6 separate regions of the Homo sapiens genome follow, and all the other regions are linked to region 1. The links are contacts of gene promoters, found by promoter capture Hi-C in human tissues and cell types (Jung and others, 2019). All regions are on one chromosome and are shown on one strand. The core of a region is centred on a gene start or on the middle of the fragment in contact, and the rest is flanking DNA. Distances in the headings are between cores, read along the strand shown. Region 1 holds the start of LONP2 (lon peptidase 2, peroxisomal). Region 2 overlaps MYLK3 (myosin light chain kinase 3). Region 3 overlaps C16orf87 (chromosome 16 open reading frame 87). Region 4 has its middle 83 kb from the start of DNAJA2-DT. Region 5 overlaps NETO2 (neuropilin and tolloid like 2). Region 6 holds the start of C16orf78 (chromosome 16 open reading frame 78).

Region 1 (3,583 bases), core at 564-3,063:
GCAATTCCTCAAGGATCTGGAACTAGAAATACCATTTGACCCAGCCATCCCATTGCTGGGTATATACCCAAAGGATTATAAATCATGCTGCTATAAAGACACACACACACGTATGCTTACTGCGGCACTATTCGCAATAGCAAAGACTTGGAACCAACCCAAATGTCCATCAATGATAGACTGGATTAAGAAAATGTGGCACATATACACCATGGAATACTATGCAGCCATAAAAAAGGATGAGTTCATGTCCTTTGTAGGGACATGGATGATGCTGGAAACCATCATTCTGAGCAAACTATCGCAAAGACCGAAAACAAAACACTGCAAGTTCTCACTCATAGGTGGCAACTGAACAATGAGAACACTTGGACACAGGGTGGGGAACATCACACTCAGGGGCCTGTCGTTGGGTGGTGGGGAGTGGGGGGGAAGGGATACCATTAGGAGATATACCTAATGTAAATGACGAGTTAGTGAGTGCAGCAAACCAACATGGCACATGTATACATATGTAACAAACCTGTACGTTGTGCACATGTACCCTAGAACTTAAACTATAATAAAAAATAAAATTAAATTAAAAACAGAAAAAAAATAAAAGTATCAAGGTTGTAAAAAAAAAAAAAATTGGACGGGCGCAGTGGCTCAGGCCTGTAATCCCAGCACTTTTGGGAGGCCAAGGCGGGCAGATCACGAGGTCAGGAGATTGAGACCATCCTGGCTAACATGGCGAAACCCCGTCTCTACTAAAAATACAAAAAATTAGCCGGGCGTGGTTGCGGGTGCCTGTAGTCCCCAGCTACTCGGGAGGCTGAAGCAGGAGAATGGCATGAACCCGGGAGGCGGAGCTTGCAGTGAGCCGAGATCTCGCCACTACACTCCAGCCTGGGTGACAGAGCGAGACTCCGTCTCAAAAAAAAAAAAAAAAAAAAAAAATTGAGGACTTGCCACAGATTAGAGAACACCTAGGAGATTTCATAACAAAACACCTAGGAGATTTCACAACAGGATCCTGGATATTGGATCCTGGACCAGATCCAATGAAGGACATTAGTGGGAAAACTGGCAAAATTTGGGTAAGGCCTATAGGTTAAACGATAATAATGTTAATTTCCTGGTTTTGATCATTGAACTATGATTATGTAAGATGATAACAGACGAAACTGGGTGAAAGGTATATAGGAACTCTGCTGTAGTTTTGTACATCTAAAATCAATTCGGGCCGGGCACGTTGGCTCACGCCTGTAATCCCAGCACTTTGGGAGGCCGAGGTGGACGGATCGCTTGAGGTCAGGAGTTAAAGACCAGCCTGGCCAACATGGTGAAATCCCCTCCCTACTAAAAATACAACAATTAGCTGGGTGTGGTGGCGGGCATCTGTAATCCCAGCTACTCGGGAGGCTGAGGCAGGAGAATCGCTTGAACCCGGGAGGCAGAGGCTGCAAGCCGTGGGTATCGCGCCATTGCACTCCAGCCTCCGCGACAGAGCGAGAATCTGTCTCAGAATAAATAAATAAATAAATAAATAAATAATTAGTTCGAATCAAAAGTTAAAAACACTTCAAGTATATGTAAAAAATCGAAGAAAACGTTAAAAACACTTCAAGTATATACAATTCAAATAAGATCATCCTTCCAAATATACTCTGTAAGTGAGGCGAAGGTCGCTGCACGCTTGAGTGCACGTCTTTCCGCATAGGTAGGACGCTCAAGTCTTACCGGGAGGCTCTCCTAGAGAGCAGCGCGAAGCCATGGCTTTTGGGCCCGGGGACGGACCGTAGCGCGTAGCCGGAAGCGGAGGCGTGGAGGCGGGTCTGAGGTTTGGTGACTGCGGGGCAGGCCGGGGGCAGCTGTCTGTCTGGCTCTTTTTGACAGCCCCCAGTGCGAAAGGCTGCCAGCATGTCATCAGTGAGCCCCATCCAGATCCCCAGTCGCCTCCCGCTGCTGCTCACCCACGAGGGCGTCCTGCTGCCCGGCTCCACCATGCGCACCAGCGTGGACTCGGCCCGCAACCTGCAGCTGGTGCGGAGCCGCCTTCTGAAGGGCACGTCGCTGCAAAGCACCATCCTGGGCGTCATCCCCAACACGCCTGACCCCGCCAGCGACGCGCAGGACCTGCCGCCGCTGCACAGGTAGGCCTGGCTGCCCCCGCGGCGGCGGCGGGCGGCGCGGCCTCCTCCGGGGACCTGGGCCCAGGCCACGGCCTGCCTTGAGCGCGAGGCTCAGTTCGGGGCGGCCTTCGCGGCTCGGTTCCGCCTCTCTGGTGCTATCACTTGCAAAATGGGGATGTCAGATACCTGCCCCATGACCATGAATGAGATCGTTCATGAAGTAGTGCCTGACACCTGGTGAAACTACGCAGTTCCCTACCGTTCTGGATAATTTAATTTGAATCCTCTTCCCCCTCTCCGCAATTCCTCGCCCTCGGTCTTCAGCCTCCTAGGCCAGTGCTTTTAACTTTCCAGGCCCTTTCTTTCTCCCCGGTGATCTCTGCCTTCACTTGCCTTCGCTTTTCACCTTTCTCCCCACTGCCCTTTACTCCTATCCGCCTCCCCTTTTCTGTCACCCATCATTTTTGTCCGCTGAGGCATTCTCTGCTCCGTGAGTTTTAACTTTTCCTGTTTCATTCCTAAACTGCACTATTTGTGGGTGCCTTTCTTCTATACTCCCTGCCACCCTTCTCCTTCTCCCCCTAATCCTTCTGTTTCCCTTTGTAAAGGGCCTTTACTGCTCACATTTTCGCTGGTCCCCCTTTCTGGAACTTTCCTAGCTTCTCACCTCTGCTCCTTCACTCATAACATTTCTTAGGCCCCAGGCTTACTACTATATTGCCCAGTACCCTCGCCCTATTGGTGTGACTTTGGGTGAGAGCTTTAACCTCTATTTCTTTTATTCTGCAATTTGGAAACTGACAGCATCCATCTCTTAGGCAAGTTATGAAGAATAAATTGAATAATGTGTATATTCCACTTTGCACCATGCATGATGGATGACTTTGCTGTCCAGTACTGTGTAGTGCATGTGGCTCGTCAAATTGAGATGATAGAATTGCCAGTTGTCCTGGTTTGCTGCGATTGTCTGTTTTAGCATTGAAAGTCCTATGTTTTAGCCCCTCCGTCCCAGGGAAACCAGGAGGTTGGTCACCCTAAATGTGCTGTAAGTGTACAATACACGCCAGATTTTGAAAAAACTTTTTGATTAATACATTTTATATGGATTAAATGTTGGAAAGGTAATATTTTGAGTACTTGGGGTTAATAAAATGTTAAGATTTCTGCTGTTTTTACTTTATAATGTGGCCACTAAAATTTTATATGTGGTCCACATTATATTTTTATTGGACAATGCTGGTATATCGTATGCTCTCAACAAGTATCTTCAAACTCACCTGCCAAGCACCCGCCTCCTATTCCTAACTCTACTGGAGGTGTTGTGTTTTCAGTTTAGAGCTTCTCCTTTCCTGGCAGTTATCCCTTATTTTTAAATTAGGGGTTCCTGACTCTGAATGGATTTCCGGAGGGTTGGACATGTCTTATTTTTCCTCAAAATCTTGTGACTATGTACATTTTTTTAGGAGAAT
Region 2 (3,583 bases), core at 694-3,193, 1.5 Mb before region 1:
GACCCTGCCCCGTGACTCCTGCTCTAAGCCCCCCAACCAAGGCAGATGCCCACCTACCCTCCCAAGACTTCGTGCTGGCACACCTCGTAACCCGCAGAGATGGAGGTCTCCTTGACGCTCACTACCCGGTGTTCAAAAGGAGCTGGTGGGGCCGGACTGTCATCTGCTCAGGAGGCAATAAGGACCTGTGAGCCTCCTCTGTGCAGCCCACACCTCTCGGTCACCTGTGCCAGACCCACTTAGCTTCTCTTGGTCCACCAGGCCCTATGTACAGCCCTGGTATTTGAAACCTTTTCTCCAAACCATCTCAGTAGAGCCATCCATTCGGCAGAGAAGGGAGCCCGTGACAGACAGCACTCAAACCCAGGTCTCCCGGCACCCAGGACAGTGCCCTTGGCAAGGCCGAGAAGTTCTATCCAGTCTGTTCATGACATCTAGAAGGTGATCCTAGTGGATCTGTGTGGCCCACAGGAAACAGAGGGCCCATGTGGACAAGGTGATGGGGCAGTTAGTGACGCCACTATTTTTAAAGGGACTGTAAAGTCAGGGCTGTGGAAACTCATGAGGGTGTTATGAGAGGGAGGCAGCTGGAGAAATAAACATCCACCCTCTCTCCTCTCACCCTCCATCTCCTGCCAGCTGAGCCCAACCAGAAGCTCAGCATGACAGCCCGTGATGGAGCCAGAGGGGCAGGCCCCGGGGCACAGGATTGGGGAGGGGGTGGACAGGGGATCTGTCGGCAAGGGAAATAGAGGACGGCCAGCACTTGGAAAGGTTTGCTTGTTTGTTTGTTTTTTAATGGTTTAGGGTTGTTTTATTTTAATCTTGTCCTTCAGAGGTGATATGAATACCTAGAAATGTTACAGGAAATAGACTAAATGAATAAAACAGAATCTAGAACACACAGCAAGTGCAGTGGTATGAACCGGTTGTGCACCAAGGGCTGGAAGGAAGTTGGCTCGGGCTAGCGTTTGTTCAGTGCTCGCCATGGGAGCACTTTGCCTGCTCTCCAACTACCGGGAACACCGACAGTGGTCCGTGGACAATTCTCAGACCAAGGAGGGTGTGACCCTAGGGCTGGAGGGGTTGAGGGCTTTTAGATCATAAGAACACACCCTGGGTCACTAGCCCGGGTGGGTGGGAATGGCTGACAGTGGTCACAGACACCAATTCATGTCTTCGCTTTTTAACAGAGCCTTCTCTCTCTCAATCCAAAATGAGACTCATGGTGGCAAGCTCAGGTGGGCAGGTGGCGGTAAGAAATCTCCCCAGTGGCCAGGCACAGCGGCTTATGCCTGCAATCCCAAAGCTCTGGGAGGCCGAGGCTGGAGGATCACTTGAACCTGGGTCAAGCCTGCAGGGGACTATGATCATGCCACTGGACTCCAGCCTGGGCAACAGAGCAAGACCCTGTCTCCAAAAAAGGAAATGTACCCAGGTGGGCCACACGTGTCCCCTCTCCCTTACCCCTGCAGCCAGCCCAAGTTCAGGCCCCACATCTCTGCGCCTTGGTCTCCAGCCCCAGGATGTACCTGGAGATGTTCCCGACTCTTGGACGCCCCCAGACTCATATGATCTACCCCTGGAAGCTACAGGAAGACTCCCCAGGAGTAGGGGCTCCAAACTCCCTCCCCTCAGGGCTCGTGTCTAGCCAGGCAACAGCCCCACTTACCCAGAACCACGCTGCCAGCCTCGGCGCCTGGGGGCATCCTCCTTACTGCTTCAGCTCTCACCGGAGCCCTGGCTGCACAGTCCTGCTCAGGCTCAGGGTTTCCCGCCCCTGGGCTTTTGCCCTGCTGCAGGCCCAGGGCCCCAACCTCGTGGTCATTGTCGTCACTCCTGGCCAAGCTTGGTCTCGTGCCAGGCTCGGCCCCAGCCCTTTGCTCCTCCTCTGCCTTCACTCCCCCGGGGCTGCTGCTCTCCTGCAGCGGGGAGAGCTCTCTGGCTCCTTCAGGGGTCTGTTCTCCGGGCTCAGTCCCAGGGGCTTGGAGGCAGCGCCCGGTCCCAGGTGGGCCCTGCTTGCCTGGCTGGGCAGCTGCTGGAGCCTCTGTGGTGAGGGTGGGTCCAAGGCTGCCCCTGCCTGTCATCAGCATCTCCCCAGGAGTATCCATCTCTTGTATGTGGATGGAGATCCTGGGGTGGAGAGAAACATGGTGCTGAGGTTAGAGGCAAGGACTCTGGAGTCAGAACAGACGTGGGTTCCAATGCCCACTGCTGCCATCATTGACAATGGCCCTGGGGCCCTGCTAGACAGGACACCAGGGCAGGAGCTGACTTCAGTGACAGTTGGTGCCATCAGCTCCCAGGATCCCACCGGATGAGGGTCCTGGGAAGCTTGAGAATGGACAGGGGTGAGGACCATACACCCCTGAGAACCTGCTTCTGTCCCAGGAGAACTGAGGCCTGTAGGCGGGAGGCCCGGGTCCCTCTACCTTCCCCTGGGCCCAGTTTCCCTTTCACTTAAATGAAGATAAGGAGAAACCAACTCAAACGTCACACTGGAAGCCCCAGATCAGAAGTATTTGTTTAAAATCAGTCAATTCCAGCTGGGCACAGTGGCTCACACCTGTAATCCCAGTGCTTTGGGAGGCCAAGGTGGGAGGATCCCTTGAGGCCAGGAGTTTGAGACCAGCCTGGGCAACATAGCAAGACCCCACCTCTACAAAAAATAATTTTAAAAAACTTAGCCAGGAGTGGTGGTCCCAGATACTCAGGAGGCTGAGGCAAGAGGACTGCTTAAACCCAGGAGATGGAGGCTACAGTGAGCTATGATCATACCACTGCACTCCAGCCTGGGCGACAGAGTGAGAGACCCTGTCTCAAAAACTAAAATAAAATAAAATCAGGCAATTCTCATAAAAGACTAGACTTTCTGTTCATCTTGAACAAACAGAAGAGCTGGCTGTGCTGGGCCCACGTGCCCACATGGTTGAGGAACAGCTCTCCACTTCAGCACAGGCCCTGCGCACCCTGGCAATGCCCCAGCTCACTTCACTCATTTTCACTGCCCAGACTCTGCAATACTAGGGTTTGTGAGCCCAGATGGAGGTGGGAAAGGCCCTCTGAGCCCCGACCTCTAGAAGGAAGGACCCTGATCCTGGCAGTCAAGTCACCCGGGAATCCAAACCCTCTCTCTCCGAGTCTCCCCACCTCTGGCTGCCTCTTGGTGGGGCTTCTTTTTGCTGGGCCACAATCCCACAGCACGGGGTCTATGTGTGTTAGGGGGTGAGGGTGACAGTGTCTGGCGGGGACTGAGTCTCAGCAGGGAGGCAGGTGGCCTCGATTCTGGGCTTAGCTCTGCCAGCAGGTTGCTGGACAGCTTTGGATAAGTCTGGCCTCAGTTCTCTCTTTTCTCTTCAGGGACGGTGATACCTTACAGATGCACCAAGAGTCAACCAAGAGAGGAAGGCACAAATGCAGGGGTTCAAAAGGGCTAAAATGGCACAACTGCTGTGGAAAACTGGAGGCTCTTCAGAAATTAAAAGTAGGATTACCGCATGTTTCAGCAACTCCACTTCTGGGTATATATCCCAGAGAATCCAAAGCAGGGTCTCCAAGAGACATCTGTACACTCATAACTGTA
Region 3 (3,583 bases), core at 317-2,816, 1.4 Mb before region 1:
AAGAACTGTCAACACAGTAGTTTATATCCAGCAAAAATATCTTTCATGAATTAAGGCAAAATAAAGACATTCTCAGATGAAGAAAAAATAAGAGAATTAAATGTCAACAGACCTGCACTAAAAGAAATTTTCCAGATGAAAAGGACTGATACCTATGTAAACTTGGAACATCAAGAATTAAGGAAGATTAATACAAATGATAAATATTGTGGTAAATGTGATAGACTGTTTTCCTCTTGGGTTCTTAAAAATATCTATGATAGTTGTAAGGAAAAAATACATTATCTGATGAGTCTTATTTTTTATTTTTATTTTTTGAGACACAGTGTCTAGCTCTGTCACTCAGGCTGGAGTGGAGTGGAGTGATCTTGGCTCACTGCAACCTCTGCCTCCTGGGCTCAAGTAATCCTCCCACTTCAGCCTCCTGAGTAGCTGGGACTACAGGAACATGCTACCACGCCTAGCTAATTTTGTGTATTTTTTGTAGAGTTGGGGTTTCACCACATTGTCCAGGCTGGTCTCGAACTCCTGGACTTAAGCAATCTGCTCGCCTCGGCCTCCCAGTCCTGGGATTACAGGTGAGCCACTGTGCCCAGCCAAGTCTTATGATTTATAAGAAAATTATAACATAAAGGGGAGAGGGTAAAGGAATGTAAACAGTGGTAAGATTTTTCTACATTCCACTTGAACTGGTAAAATATTGACTTCTAAGTGAACTGTAAAAAGTGAAGTATGTTTATAGTAATCCCTAGAGCAAATACTGCAAAACTATTCAAAGAACTATAATTTTAAAAAACAATAAATTACAATCAGTAACAGAAAGATAACTGAAAAAAACTCTAAATATTTGAAAATTATAGTAATACCAAGAAAAATCAGAATATTCTAAATTGAACACAAAATTACAACACAATAAAATTTGTGAGATAAAGCAAATGGGAAATTTATAGCATTAAATGCTTTTTTTAGAAAAGCACAAAAAGCCTTCTGATCAGTGTTGAATTAAATAAATAAATAAATAAATAAGTAAATTTTAAAATCAATGATCTGAGCTTCCGCCACAATAAGCTAGAAAAGGGAGCAAATAAGCCCAAAGCAAAGAAAGGAGAAAATACTAAAGATCAGAAATTAATGAAACTTAAAACAGAAAAACAGCAAAATATCAATAAACCAGAGCAGGTTCTTACAAAAGAGAAATGCAGCCGGGCACGGTGGCTCATGCCTGTAAAGGCGGGTGGATCACCGGAGCTCAGGAGTTCGAGACCAGCTTGGCCAACATGGTGAAACTCCATCTCTACTAAAAATACAAAAAGAAGCTGGGTGTAGTGGCGTGCGCCTGTAATTCCAGCTACTCAGGAGGCTAAGGCAGGAGAATCGCTTGAACTCGGGAGGCAGAGGTTGCAAGGTTGCATTGAGCCAAGATCACACCACTGCCCTCCAGCCTGGGCGACAGAGCGAGACTGTAATCCCAACACTTTGGGAGGCTGAGTCAGGAGTTGAAGACCAGCCTGGCCAACATGGTAAAAACCTATCTCTACTAAAAATTCAAAAATTAGCCGGGCATGGTGATGCACACCTGTATACCCAGGTACTTGGGAGGCTGGTGAGGGAAGCTTGAACCCAAGAGGCAGAGGGTGCAGTGAGCCAAGATCGCACCATTGCACTCCAGCCTGGGTGACAGAGTGAGACTCCGTGTCAAAAAAAAAAGAAAAGAAAAGCTATCAGTATGTTTCACCATATGAACATTCTAAAGGGGAGAAAAAAGGTCCTATCAATTATGCAGAAAAAGCATCTGACAAAATTCAACATCTGTTCCTGACAGAAAACTTCCAACAAGCAGAAATAAAAGAGTCTACCCTCAATCTACTAAAGGGTATTTTTTCAAGCCCACAACAACAACAAAGTTATTTAATGCTTAATGACTGAATGTTTCCCCCCTACAACTGGATCAAGGCAAAAAGTCCCAACCAGTGCAATAAGGCAAAGAAAAAAATATAGAAATTATCAATAAAAGAACAAAACAGATTCCTTAATAATGCAAAAGGCAAATACTTGACTGGGGTAAAAAGAATTATTCTATTCCAGACTCTGTTATATGTCTCATACTTTTAATCCTGGAGAGTCTGCTTTGTATGTTAGGATAGTTATTAGTATAGTTGTAATCTTTGAGTAGTAAGTACTACTAATATTCAAACTATAATAAATGGGTTAAGGCAGCACAAAAGAATAATTTAAAAAAATAGTTCCCTAGAAAATAGATCCTGAGAATAAAAATATATAAACATATATACATGTACTTCCAAATGTAAAAATGAAGCTTGTCATGTAGTAAAAGAAAAAACCCAGCTGCACAGAAAAAACTTTAATTAACTTAAATAAGAGATTTGTTAACAACAATATGCCTTAAAGGCTAGAAAGACAGAAAATACTAGGGAAAAAATGCTTTTAACTAGCAAGAATATAAGGCATCAAACCAAACTAGAAGGTAAAGTGGAAATAATTAAGAATGAGTTTCAAAGAATGACGGACAAAATGTTTTAGAGAAGAACACAATTTGGCAGAATGACTACCTGTATCTAGAGCATATTTTGAAAGTGGAATCAAACAAATTCAATACTTTTTTCACACAGGGTGTTTCTTGCTCTGCCTCCCAGGCTGGAGTGCAGTGGCAAGATCATCACTCACTGCAGCCTCGAACTCCTGGGCTCAAGTGATCCTTTAGCCTCAGCTGCCTAGTAGCTGGAAGCACCACACCCAGCTAATTTTACTTTTTGTAGAGACGCGGTCTCATCATGTTGCCCAGGCTGGTCTCAAACTCCTGGCTTCAAACAACTCTCCTGCCTTGGCCTCCCAAAGTGTTGGGATTACAGGTGTAAGCCACCATGCCTGGCCAATTAATACTTTATATAAAAGTAAGTAAAGAGCTTAATTTTTCTAAATTTAAGACAAACATGCAGATTGAAAGGCAAGCCAAAATTAAATATTGCCAAGTCATTTTAATGATCAGAATTAGAGAATCAAGTGCAATTACTAGAGTTAAAGAAGTCAAATACTTTTCAATTTGAAATCTTATCTGAGGGAGAACACTATCTGATTACTTTTAGGAAGCAACTCAGAGGTCATACTGACCTTTTTTTTTTTTTTCTTAAGTATTTCTGAAATTTAAAGAAATAAGAATAGACTGGCTAAATTTTCAGGTCATTTGCAATTTTAAATTTTCTCATCATAAACTGCTTCAAGCTGTTTGATCACTTCCACTGATTACTACACAAGAAATAATTTGCACAATTTCCCTTACTTTTATATCATTTACATTTAAATACAGCCAAAAAATACCCATGAAAATCTAAGAAATGTTCATTTCTAAAACTAACAAACAAAATCAAACTACAAGTATTAAAGTGCCCACAAAAACATTTTGGAATACCATGGAGTTGAGGCAGGGAGTAACAACTCTCAAACTACTTTTATTTAATCTTACTCATATTTAAGAATAAGTTATCTTCAACAGACCTAATCTAATTGTGGAATCATTTCAAGGTATTTTGAATAATCATATCATTTATAGATATCAGAGCAGAAC
Region 4 (3,583 bases), core at 576-3,075, 1.2 Mb before region 1:
CTCTGCCCTGCTCTGGCCATCCTCTCTCTTGCTCTGGCTGAGCCCAGGGCTTTTATGTCGCTCAGAGGGGAGGAAGTGCATGCCCACTGGTCCATGGGTGGCCATGGGTGGGCCTGGAAGAGGCACCATGAGTCCGCACTCAGGTCCGCAGGACTGGCAGCCCAGCCCCCAGCCTTCAGGCCCTCTCTGGCCTGAAGGTGGGGCCTTACTGGGGTCCCCCGCTTCCACCCAGGAATCTGTCTGCCTCCTGCTGCCATTCATGACCCCTGGGGCTCGGCCCTAAGCCCTGCTCCAGTATCGGAGTGGGCGCCAGGACGGGAGAGAAACCAGGCAGCAGGAGCAGGGACAGGAGGCTGGGCGGTCTTCCCCAGCCGCCTTGAGGACGCAGGCTGCAGAGATGCACTGGGCCTGTGCCTGGGAGGGTGGCCGCAGCTGCATCCAGGAGCTCCTGTCCCACCAACCTGGAAGGGGCAGGACTCCCGCTTGTCCCCGGCTCCGGCCTGCTCTGTGAAGCGGGAGGCCCAGGTCTGCAGCCACAGTTTGGGGGACTGCAGCTGCACCCGCAAGGGCAGATCCTGCCTGCTCCCGGGCCCCCTTCAAGAGCACAGCGAGTCTTGGATCCACAGCCGCAGTTTGGGTGGCTGTAACCCTGCCCAGGAGGGCGGGGCGTTTGCCTGCTTCGTAGAGCAGGAGGTCTGGGTCTGCAGCCACGGTTTGGGCAGCTGCAGCGGCACCCAGGGAGCTACTGCCCCAGCTCAGAAGGGATGGGGCTCCCACCGGCTCCATGGAGTGTGCAGCCCACCGCTCTGCCTTCCTGCTGCCATCAGTATCTCCAGGTAAGGCAGGTTGCACTGGCTTTTGTGCCCTTCGTCCATCCTATCCTCAGCCTAGAGGTCTTAAGGGCTGAAAATGGAGTCAATAATTTGCCTTTTAGTGGAATTTTTGGCTAAGTTCCTAATGGTGCACTTCCAGCGAAGTGGGCATGCTTAAGTCTTTGTTAGAGCTTCCAAAATTCAGTACAGTAGAAGTTTCTCTCTCACTGGGGGACCTAGGGCAAGTAATTGAGCCCCATCTGAGCCTCAGTTCCTTTGTCTGTACAATGGGGATGGAAAATGCCAGAACCTATCCTACAGGGTCATTGTACGGGGCTTAGAACAGGCGCTGGTGTTGGCAGCCAGGAGCGGTGGCTCACGCCTGTAATTCCAGCACTTTGGGAGGCAGAGGCGGGCGGATCACAAGGTCAGGAGATCGGGACCATCCTGGCCAACATGGTGAAAGCCCGTCTCTACTAAAATACAAAAAATTAGCCAGGCGTGGTGGCACGCGTCTGTAATCCCAGCTCTTCAGGAGGCTGAGGCAGGGGAATTGCTTGAAGCCGGGAGGCGGAGGTTGCAGTGAGCTGAGATCACGCCACTCCACTCCAGCCTGGCAACAGAGCAAGACTCCGTCTCAAAAAAAAAAAAAAAAAAAAAAAAAAAAGAACAGGGGCTGGGGCTTGGGGGCAATTGCCCCCTAAATGTCAGCTCTTCTTATTACTTGGCCTGTCCTGGAAGCTGACTTTTTAAGGAGCAACTTTCTCTGCCTCTTTCTTTTTATTGGTTTTTATTTTCACTCATTCTAGTTGGAGGAGTAACTGTCTTTCTTTCATTCTTCTCCCTCCTTAGCCTCTGCCACACTCCTTGGGAGCCCAGCTCACTTTCTTCAGGAAAGGAAGCATCTGCAGTGGGGTTTGGAAATCTCATTGCTTGGGGGCCACTGGGGGTGCTTTGGCAGTGATGCCCCAGCCCAGAGAAGACCTCGCTTTCTTCTTTGAATTAACTGAAATCTCTGCCTCCCATGAGTTCTTGTCAGGAAAATTGCTCTCAATCACTTACAGCTATTTCCCTTTCCAAGGATCTAATTTTCCTAATTCCCAGAATGCTGCCCTAATTGTATTGTAGTTTCTGAGAAGGTGACGATGGTAGGGGCTGGGTGTATATGTGTGTATCTGTGTGTGTCTGTGTGTGTATCTGTTTGTGTCTGTATGTGTGAGGGTGTGTCTGTGTGTGTGTCTGTGTGTGTCTCTGTGTCTATGTGTAAGGGTGTGTTGTGTGTGTTTGTGTGAGAGGGTGTGTGTGTCTATGTGTCTGTGTGTGTCTGTGTGAGGGTGTGTGTCTGTGTGAGAGGGGGTGTGTGTGTCTGTGTGTATCCATGTGTGTGTGTCTGTGTGTGTCTCTATGTGTGAGGGTGTGTGTGTGTCTGAGAGGGTGTGTGTGTGTCTGTGTCTGTGTGTGTATCTGTGTGTGTGTGTCTGTGTGTGTCTCTGTGAGGGTGTGTGTGTGTCTGAGAGGGTGTGTGTGTGTCTGTTTGTGTCTGTGTGTGTATCCGTGTGTGTGTGTCTGTGTGTGTCTCTGTGTGAGTGTCTGTGTGTGTCTCTATGTGTGTCTGTGTGTGTCTGTGTGCGTCTCTGTGTGTGTCTGTGTGCATGTGTGTGTCTGTGTGTATTTGCCAAATGGGGTTCCCAGCACAGGGAATGGGGATCTCTTGGTGACTTCCTTTTAAAGCCTGCATTTTCCTGGACACTGAAGGTGTCCCAAAGACCCTGGCCTCCTTCCCGAGTCTCATCCACTGACCTGAGACAGTGGCTGGGAAACAGTCCTGGGGGTGAGGATGAGGCCACCTGATTTGACCAGGAATGAGTCAGAAACGTTGTGGACTTGAAGAAGGCCAGCTGGAGGTCTTGTTTTCAGCAGCCCTGCGGAGGGCAGGAAGGTTGGCAGAGGAGATGGCGTGAGCTCATGCCCAGTAGGACTACTGTGGCCCAGTAGGTCCCACAGAGCAATGTCCTCTCCTGTCTCCTGGCGTTTACTCAGGCCTGGTATGGCCAACTATTGTGGCCTCATCTGAAGCAATGTCTGTGTGCAGGGAAAATTCCAATTCTCTTCCACAGCTCAAACAGAACTTCTGGCACCAAATATGTGGGTTTTTCCACACTAAGCAATTCTCCAATTCTCTGCAGATACCAACTGGGCATCCAGTAACTCAACCCAATTCCCACAGGTGGAGGGCTGCTGCATTATTCCATAAGACCATTTCCCATGTCAGACACCAACTGCAGGTCGTGGGTCCCCAGGTTACCCACGCTTCTGTCCCACTTGGCTATAGATAAGAGGTTCCCAAAACCCCCTCCTTAGATTCAATCATTTGTCAGAATGGTTCACAGAACTCAGAGAAGCATGATTACTAGCTTATTATAAAGGATATTACAATTGGCTGGGCATGGTGGCTCACGCCTGTAATCCCAGCGCTTTGGGAGGCTGAGGCGGGTGGATTGCTTGAGTCCAAGAGTTGGAGACCAGCCTGGGCAACATGGCGAAACCCCGTCTCTACAAAAAATACAAAAATTAGCCAGACGTGTTGGCATGCGCCTGTAGTCTCAGCTACTTGGGAGGCTTAGGTGGGAGGATCATCTGAGCCTGGGGAGGCTGAGGCTGCAGTGAGCCGTGATCATGCCACTGCACTGCAGCCTGGGTGAAAGAATGAGACCTTGTCTCAAGAAAAAAAAAAAAGATATTACAACAGATACAGATGAACATCCAGATGA
Region 5 (3,583 bases), core at 669-3,168, 1.1 Mb before region 1:
AGTTGGAAGAGGCTAACCAGCCCTGCCCAAATGTAGATTAAAGTTAAGGGCCATTCAAATTCAAGTAAAAAAATGATGGTATTTTGGAAAGCAGATTTTGCCAAAGCTACTGGTAATATGATCTGCACTTATGATAAGCAAAATAAAAAAAAATTAGGAAGTACTGATATATCACTTGGATTTTTTTTTTTTTTTTTTAATCCTTAGCTAATTGGCTGAGGAGTTTAAGGAGATAGAAAAGCAAAGAAATATAACAGAAACAGTTTTTCCTGGTGGGAATGTATTCACTTGATTTTTCAGGAACCTAAAGGAAGGTTTGTTTTATTTATTTACTTATTTATTTATTTATTTATTTATTTAGAGACGGAGTCTTACTCTGTCACCCAGGCTGGAGTGCAGTGGTGCAATGTTGGCTCACTGCAAGCTCCGCCTCCCGGGTTCACGCCATTCTCCTGCCCCAGCCTATCGAGTAGCTGGGACTACAGGCGCCCGCCACCATGCCCGGCTAATTTTTTGTATCTTTAGTAGAGACAGGGTTTCACCGTGTTAGCCAGGATGGTCTCAATCTTGTTGACCTCATGATCTGCCCGCCTTGGCCTCCCAAAGTGCTGGGATTACAGGCATGAGCCACCGCGCCTGGCCATTTATTTTTTGAGACGGGGTCTTGCTCTGTCACCCAGGCTGGAGTGCAGTGGTGCAATCTTAGCTCACTCCAACCTCTGCCTCCTGGGTTCAAGTGATCCTCCCATCTCAGTCTCCTGAGTGGTGCATACCACCACGCCCAGCTAATTTTTGTATTGTTAGTAGAGATGGGGTTTCACCATGTTGGCTAGGCAGGCTGGTCTCAAACTCCTGAGCTCAAGCGATCCACCCGCCTCGGCCTCACAAAAGCTGGAATTACATGTATGAGCCGCTGTGCCTGGCCTAGGAACCCAAAGAAGAATCCTAAAATCTGTCTTCAAAATTTCTCCACTTTTAAGTTGTGGTGGTTGTCTGTGTATGAGCTACAACCTTTAATAAGAAAAACTTCCCACATGCTTACCAAATAGTGAAGATAACTTTTAAAAACTTAAGCAGTTCATAAAAACACAATCTCCATAGTAACCATAAGAACATATCTATAAAATATACACAAAAGGAAATGCGAAGGGAATCAAAACTTGTCACTACAAAAAAAAATCAATTAAAGAAAAGAAGGCAGTAATGGAGGAAATGAGAGACAACAAAGCTATAGACACACAGAAAACAAGTAGCAAAGTGACAGAACCTTCCTCATCAGCAATTAAACATAAATAAACTCTCCAATCAAAAGAAGAGATTGCAGAATTGATGGGAAAAAACAAGATCCAATTATATGCTGCCTGTAGGACACTCACTTTAAAGATATAAAAAAGTTGAAAGTAAAAGGATGGACAAAGATATTCCATGCAAATAGTTGCTAAAAGACAGCTAGGGGGTGGCAAGACTAGTCTTGGATAAAAAAGGACACGGTATATTGATAAAAGGGTCAATTCACCCAGAAGATATAACGATTATAAACATATATGGACTAAAAACAAAGGAGCCCTAAAATATATGAAACAAACATTGATAGAACTGATGGGAGAAGTAGACACTTGTACAATAGTAATTGGAGACTTCAACATTGCACTTTCAATAAAGGATAGAATGACCAGGCAGAACATCAATAAGAAAATAAAGGACCTGAACACCACTATAGACCAAATGGACCTAACATATACAGAAAATTCCACCCAATAACAGAAAAATGTAATTTTTCTCAATTACACATCAGACAGTCTCTAGAATAGACTACGTATGTTCAGCCACAAAACAAGTCTTAATATATTTTAAATGACTGAAATATAAAATTTATTTTCAAATCAAAATGGAATGAAACTAGATATCAACAACTGAAGGAAAATGAAAAAATTCACAAGTCTGTGTAAATTAAACTACACACTCTTACACAACTTTTAAAGCTGTGATTTCAAAAAAGAAATCCACGGGAAATTATAAGATACCTTGAGACAAATGAAACCCAAAACATGCCAAAACTTATGCAGAGTACTAAAAGCAGTAGTAAAAGGGAAATTTACACCTGTAAATGCCTACATTAAAAAAGAAGAAACAACTTAGATCAATAGTTTAACTTTATACCTTAAGGAACTAGAGAAAGAAGACAAACTAAATCCAAAGCTAGCAGAAGTAACAAAATAATAAAGATTTGAGTGACAATAAATAAAATAGAAAACAGAAAAAGAGCAAAAACCCAAAACTTGATTCTTTGGACAGATCAACAAGACTGACAAACCTGTGGCTAGAATTATTAAGAACAAAAAGACTCAAATTATTAAAATCAGAAATGCAACTGGAGACATTACTACAGATCTGACGTATATAAAAAGAATCATAAGTGAATACTAAGAACAACTGTATGCCAACAAACTGACAACCTAGAGGAAATGGATGAATTCCTAGAAACACACAATCAAAACTGCATAATGAAGCCAAAGAAAATCTGAATAGGCCTAAAACTAGCAAGGAGATTAAAAAAAGAATCCAGAACTTCTCAACAAAGAAAGGCTCTGGATCACATGGCTTCACTGGTGAATTCTACTAAACATGTAAAGAATTAACACCAATCAGTTGATTCCTGGGCAAGATGGCCGAATAGGAACAGTTCCAGTCTGCAGCTCCCCATGAGATCAAGGCAGAAGGCAGGTGATTTCTGCATTTCTAACTGAGGTACCCAGCTCATTTCACTGGGACTGGTTAGACAGTGGGTACAGCCCACGGAGGACGAGTAGGAGCAGGGTGGAGGGTCACCTCACTTGGGAAGCTCAAGGGGTCGGGGAACTCCCTCCCCTAGCCAAGGGAAGCCATGAGGGAACGGCGCATTCTGGCCCAGATACTACACTTTTCCCATGGTCTTCACAACCCGCAGACCAGGAGATTCCCTCGGGTGCCTACACCACCAGGGACCTGGGTTTCAAGCATAAAACTGGCGGCCATTTGGGCAGACACCGAGCTACCTGCAGAAGTTTTTTTTCATACCCTAGTGGTGCCTGGAACGCCAGCGAGACAGAACTGTTCATTCCCCTGGAAAGGGGGCTGAAACCAGGGAGCCAAGTGGTGTAGTTCAGCAGATCCCACCCCCACGGGGCCCTTCAGACGAAGATGCACTGGCTAGAAATTCTCACTGCCAGCACAGCAGTCTGAAGTTGACCTGGGACGCTTGAGCTTGGTAGGGGGAGGGGCATCTGCCATGACTGAGGCTTGAGTAGGTGGTTTTCCCCTCACAGTGTAAACAAAGCCACAGGGAAGTCTGAACTGGGCAGAGCCCACCGCAGCTCAGCAAAGCTGCTGTAGCCAGACTGCCTCTCTAGATTCCTCCTCTCTGGGCAGGGCATCTCTGAAAGAAAGGCAGCAGTCCCAGTCAGGGGCTTATAGATAAAACTCCCATCTCCGTGGGACAGAGCACCTGGGGGAAGGGGCCGCTGTGGGTGCAGCTTCAGCAGACTTAAACGTTCCTGCCTGCCGGCTCTGAAGAGAGCAGCAGACCTCCCAGCACAGCACTCGA
Region 6 (3,583 bases), core at 661-3,160, 1.1 Mb after region 1:
TCCATTATCCAGAAAATCTTTCTTCAAGAATGAAGGTAAAATAAAGACATTACCATATAAACAAAGACAAAATAATTCATTATTTCTAAAATCTTACAAATATATTGCAAAATTAATAAATCCAGATGTAAAATATCACATGCATATTATTTGGTTTATATTTAACTCAATAACAGGAAGAAAAAGTTTGATATTGGATAATAAGGCCGGACACGGTGGCTCACGCCTGTAATCCCAGCACTTTGTGAGGCCGAGACAGGTGGATCACGAGGTCAGGAGTTCAAGACCAGCCTGGCCAACATGGTGAAACCCCGTCTCTACTAAAAATACAAAAATTACAGTGCGCCTGTAATCCCAGCTACTCAGGAGGCTGAGGCAGGAGAATCGCTTGAACCTGGGGGACGGAGGTTGCAGTAAGCCGACTCTAGCCTGGGTGACAGAGCGAGACTCTGTCTCAAAAAAAAAAAAAAAGAAATTGGATGATAAGATGATGTTTACCCTTGGAGGGTGGTAATAACTACCAGGGGCTGTATGGAAGATTCTGGGGTACTGGTTACATAGATGTCTTCATTTGTGATTCTGGCACATTTTTGTATATATAATTTCCTTCAATAGAAGTTTACTAGAGCAAAAAAGGGAAGCCTGACCATGCCACTCCCTCCCCTTTTTTTGAATTCCTTTATTGTTTTCCTTTGCTCCCTTTCCCTTCCCAGTCTGAGCAGAACCTGTGGCTACCAAGTTCCTGGATGGCCTGGCCTCTGGCCACCTCTGTACCATTGCCTCTTTGCCTCTGGTACTCTAGTCACCCTTGCCTTCTGTTGTTAGTGCCATGCCTCCCGCTTGTCACAGGGCCTTTGCACAGGCATATTTCTCTGGTCCAAAGCCCTTATCTTAATCCATTTGGGCCTATGACAAAATACCACAAAGTGGGTAGCTTATAAACAACAAACATTCATTTATCACATTTTTGAAGCCTAGGAAATCCAAAATTAAGGCTCTGACAGATTCCGTTGTCTGCTGAACCCATTTCCTGGTGACACCTTCTCACTACATCTTCACATGGTGGAGCTCTCTCTAGTCTCTTCTGCAAGGGCACCAATTCCAATCATGAGAGAACTGCTCTCATGACCTAATTACCTCCCAAGACCCCACCTTTTAATGCCATCACCTTGGGGGTTAGGATTTCAGCACATGAATTTTGGAGGGACAGAAATGTCCAGACCATAACAGCCCTGTTGAAGTCTATTTATCCTTTAGCTCAGAGCTCAAAGGTGGCCTACCCACCACCCCATCCAAGTCTAGTACCATTGATATGGCCTTTCATAGAACTACATTCCTTTCTTTGAAAGCACTCATCTTCACTTGTCATTATGAATTCATACGGTAATTATCTGCCCTGTCTTTTCCACTAGCCCATATGTCTTAGGAGGTTTGCCTATGTTTTTTTCCTGCATTGTATCCCCAGCACCATTCCCAATACTTAGTAGGTGCCTGATAACCACATGTTGGATGAATAAATGAATATAGACGAATTGGGCTTATAAAAAGCTTTCTTCTAATTAGAGTACACTACAGAAAGATAGGATGCCAAACTAAAGAATTCAGATTTCTTTTAGATAGGCAACAAGGAGCCATTGAAGGTTTTTGAGAAAGGAAGATGCGTGGACAGACCTTTATTTTATTAAGATCTCTGTGGAGGTAGAGGTGGAGAGGCTGCAAGGAGGCTGTGGCAGAGTCCAGAGGAGACATAGCGCCTGAAGAGGGGTAGTGGCCACATGGAGAACAGTGGGAGGTGGCCAATGTCCCACCTCCACTCTGACCTCAGGGCCAGCTACCAAGACGGGCAATGACTTCACAATCACTGCCCAGGCCTTCCACCTTTTAAGGCCAATATCCCAGGGTCTTGGCTCACTCTGCCCTTTATGTTCACATCTGGAGGCCACACCCTACCTTCTAAGTCACCAGGCCATCAAGTCCAGACAAAGGGATCGAAAGAGTGAGACAGTGCCAGCCACCTCCCACCCAAGCCACTAGCAAGACTCCACAATGTCAGAGCAACAAATGGACCTGAAGGATTTAATGCCCACAAAGAGGAAATACATGTGGAAGACTGCTGAAGATAGGCGCATGTCTGACCTCACCTGTGTGCTGGAGTGGCTGGAGCGGAGGCAGGGGAAGAAGAAACAAGCTCCCGAGGTGGGTACCATCCAAGAGAAATGGCAGGAAGACTTTACTCAAGGTAGTTGCAGTAGGGGAGAGAGATTGAACTTAACTCTCCTGAAACAAAAGGCGGGATGGTTTTGAAGTGCTGGGATAAGCTAGTGAGAACTACCCAAGGACATTAAGGGGGTGGGGGAATTAGTTAATATGATTAGGCTGTCTGTGTTGCTAATTCGCACTTATAAATGTTAGGCTCCCATCCTCTCACAGAGACTGAGAGACAAGGTACAATCTTTCTTGATGATTACATTTCAAAGGGTCCTCCCAGGTCCTTGAGAAAAACATTCCTGGATTGTAAAACTAGCAAGAGACTGAGAGATTTACATCTCAAAGGGGCAGAGAAAAAATTTACAAATCCAAGTTTTCTAGAGGAAATGCTCTAAGGAAAAGGAGGCCAAGGGCCTATCATCAGGAAGAAACCTGTCTAAAGTTTAGTCAAGCTGGGCAAATGTTAGTATTGGTCAGAATTCTAGAAGGGCCAAGGGGCAGTGGCTTCTGGGTCTCCATATTGCAGGATGGGATCCTCCTACTGCCCTCAGCTCTTCTCTCCTTGTGATGCCTTCAGAATCAAAGAACATTCATTCCTCACTGCCATTACTGCAACTGCAACTCCAGCTAACATACCTCCTCTTTTCTACCCTACATCGAGCTAGTTCTAACCCACCCTTTCCTCTTTCTCCAAGAAATGTAGCAACCAAGTTTGCCTTAGTTTTTCCCAGAGCTCCCCCAAGACCTATCATCTATGAAGAACCAAGCCATGTCTTTGGAAAGTGGTGTCCTCTGCAGAAGATGCCACCTGGTCTTGAATCTCCTGACCCTAGAGCAAAATGAGTAAAAAATGCCATTACTAATAACAATGCTCAACACATCACTAACTTTTAATGTTTACTGTGGTCAAGGCCCTGTGCTTAGATTTGTACCTGGGTTATGTGGTCAATTGCTCCCAGTCAGGCTACCAGGGAGGCACCATTTTTACCCCTAGTTGAAGGATAAGGAAAGTGAAAATAAGTCATTTTATTGAAGTCACAGAAGTAATAAAGGGCAGAGCCAGGGCTCAAACTGAGGTTTTCCAATTCCCAAATGCATAGACTCCTCTGCTTTATCCAGGTCAGCACCTGCCTTTGGGGAAAGCTTCCATTATGTTTGTGTGCTTACTTACTGTATTAGTCCATTCTCATACTGCTACAAAGAAATACCTGAGACTGGGTCATTTATTTAAAAAAAAAATAAAAAAAAATGTTTAATTGGCTCATGGCTGTACAAGAAGCATAGGAGATTCCACTTCTGGGGAGGTCTCAGGAAGCTTACAATCATGGCAGAAGGCAAAAGAGGAGCAGGCACTTCACATGGCAAGAGCAAGAAG

What was found. The method cuts DNA at HindIII sites, captures the fragments that hold promoters and counts their contacts. A contact is called where the count stands out against the background at its distance.
Region 2: a fragment that was not itself captured here is called in contact with the fragment with the promoter of LONP2 in region 1 in 1 of the 25 tissues and cell types used here (spleen).
Region 3: a fragment that was not itself captured here is called in contact with the fragment with the promoter of LONP2 in region 1 in 1 of the 25 tissues and cell types used here (spleen).
Region 4: a contact is called between a fragment that was not itself captured here and the fragment with the promoter of LONP2 in region 1, in 2 of the 25 tissues and cell types used here (lymphoblastoid cells and spleen).
Region 5: a fragment that was not itself captured here is called in contact with the fragment with the promoter of LONP2 in region 1 in 1 of the 25 tissues and cell types used here (spleen).
Region 6: a contact is called between the fragment with the promoter of C16orf78 here and the fragment with the promoter of LONP2 in region 1, in 1 of the 25 tissues and cell types used here (lymphoblastoid cells).

Annotation. Positions count from the first base shown.
Region 1 is chr16:48,242,487-48,246,069 of GRCh38, forward strand. It overlaps LONP2 (lon peptidase 2, peroxisomal), which reads left to right and starts at 1,814. Exons shown (of 15, transcript NM_031490.5): 1 at 1,814-2,135. The coding sequence starts at 1,903. All of the region lies in intron 1 of ABCC11 (ATP binding cassette subfamily C member 11), which reads right to left. RefSeq lists an enhancer at 1,750-1,839. The HindIII fragment of the contact is 28,002 bases long and covers 1-3,583 here.
Region 2 is chr16:46,730,536-46,734,118 of GRCh38, forward strand. It overlaps MYLK3 (myosin light chain kinase 3), which reads right to left. Exons shown (of 13, transcript NM_182493.3): 4 at 1,673-2,133; 5 at 58-163. Among named protein-coding and RNA genes, the nearest start is that of MYLK3, 16 kb to the right of the region's middle. The HindIII fragment of the contact is 6,295 bases long and covers 1-3,583 here.
Region 3 is chr16:46,797,047-46,800,629 of GRCh38, forward strand. C16orf87 (chromosome 16 open reading frame 87) reads right to left here. Exons shown (of 4, transcript NM_001001436.4): 4 at 1-3,583. Among named protein-coding and RNA genes, the nearest start is that of C16orf87, 32 kb to the right of the region's middle. The HindIII fragment of the contact is 3,265 bases long and covers 1-3,199 here.
Region 4 is chr16:47,055,043-47,058,625 of GRCh38, forward strand. No RefSeq gene overlaps it. Among named protein-coding and RNA genes, the nearest start is that of DNAJA2-DT, 83 kb to the left of the region's middle. The HindIII fragment of the contact is 6,804 bases long and covers 1-3,583 here.
Region 5 is chr16:47,094,084-47,097,666 of GRCh38, forward strand. All of the region lies in intron 7 of NETO2 (neuropilin and tolloid like 2), which reads right to left. Among named protein-coding and RNA genes, the nearest start is that of NETO2, 48 kb to the right of the region's middle. The HindIII fragment of the contact is 5,022 bases long and covers 1-3,583 here.
Region 6 is chr16:49,371,894-49,375,476 of GRCh38, forward strand. It overlaps C16orf78 (chromosome 16 open reading frame 78), which reads left to right and starts at 1,911. Exons shown (of 5, transcript NM_144602.4): 1 at 1,911-2,196. The coding sequence starts at 2,047. LOC105371244 (a long non-coding RNA gene) reads right to left here. Exons shown (of 8, transcript XR_001752167.2): 8 at 431-3,037. RefSeq lists enhancers at 1,364-2,094, 2,095-2,825. The HindIII fragment of the contact is 5,141 bases long and covers 1-3,583 here.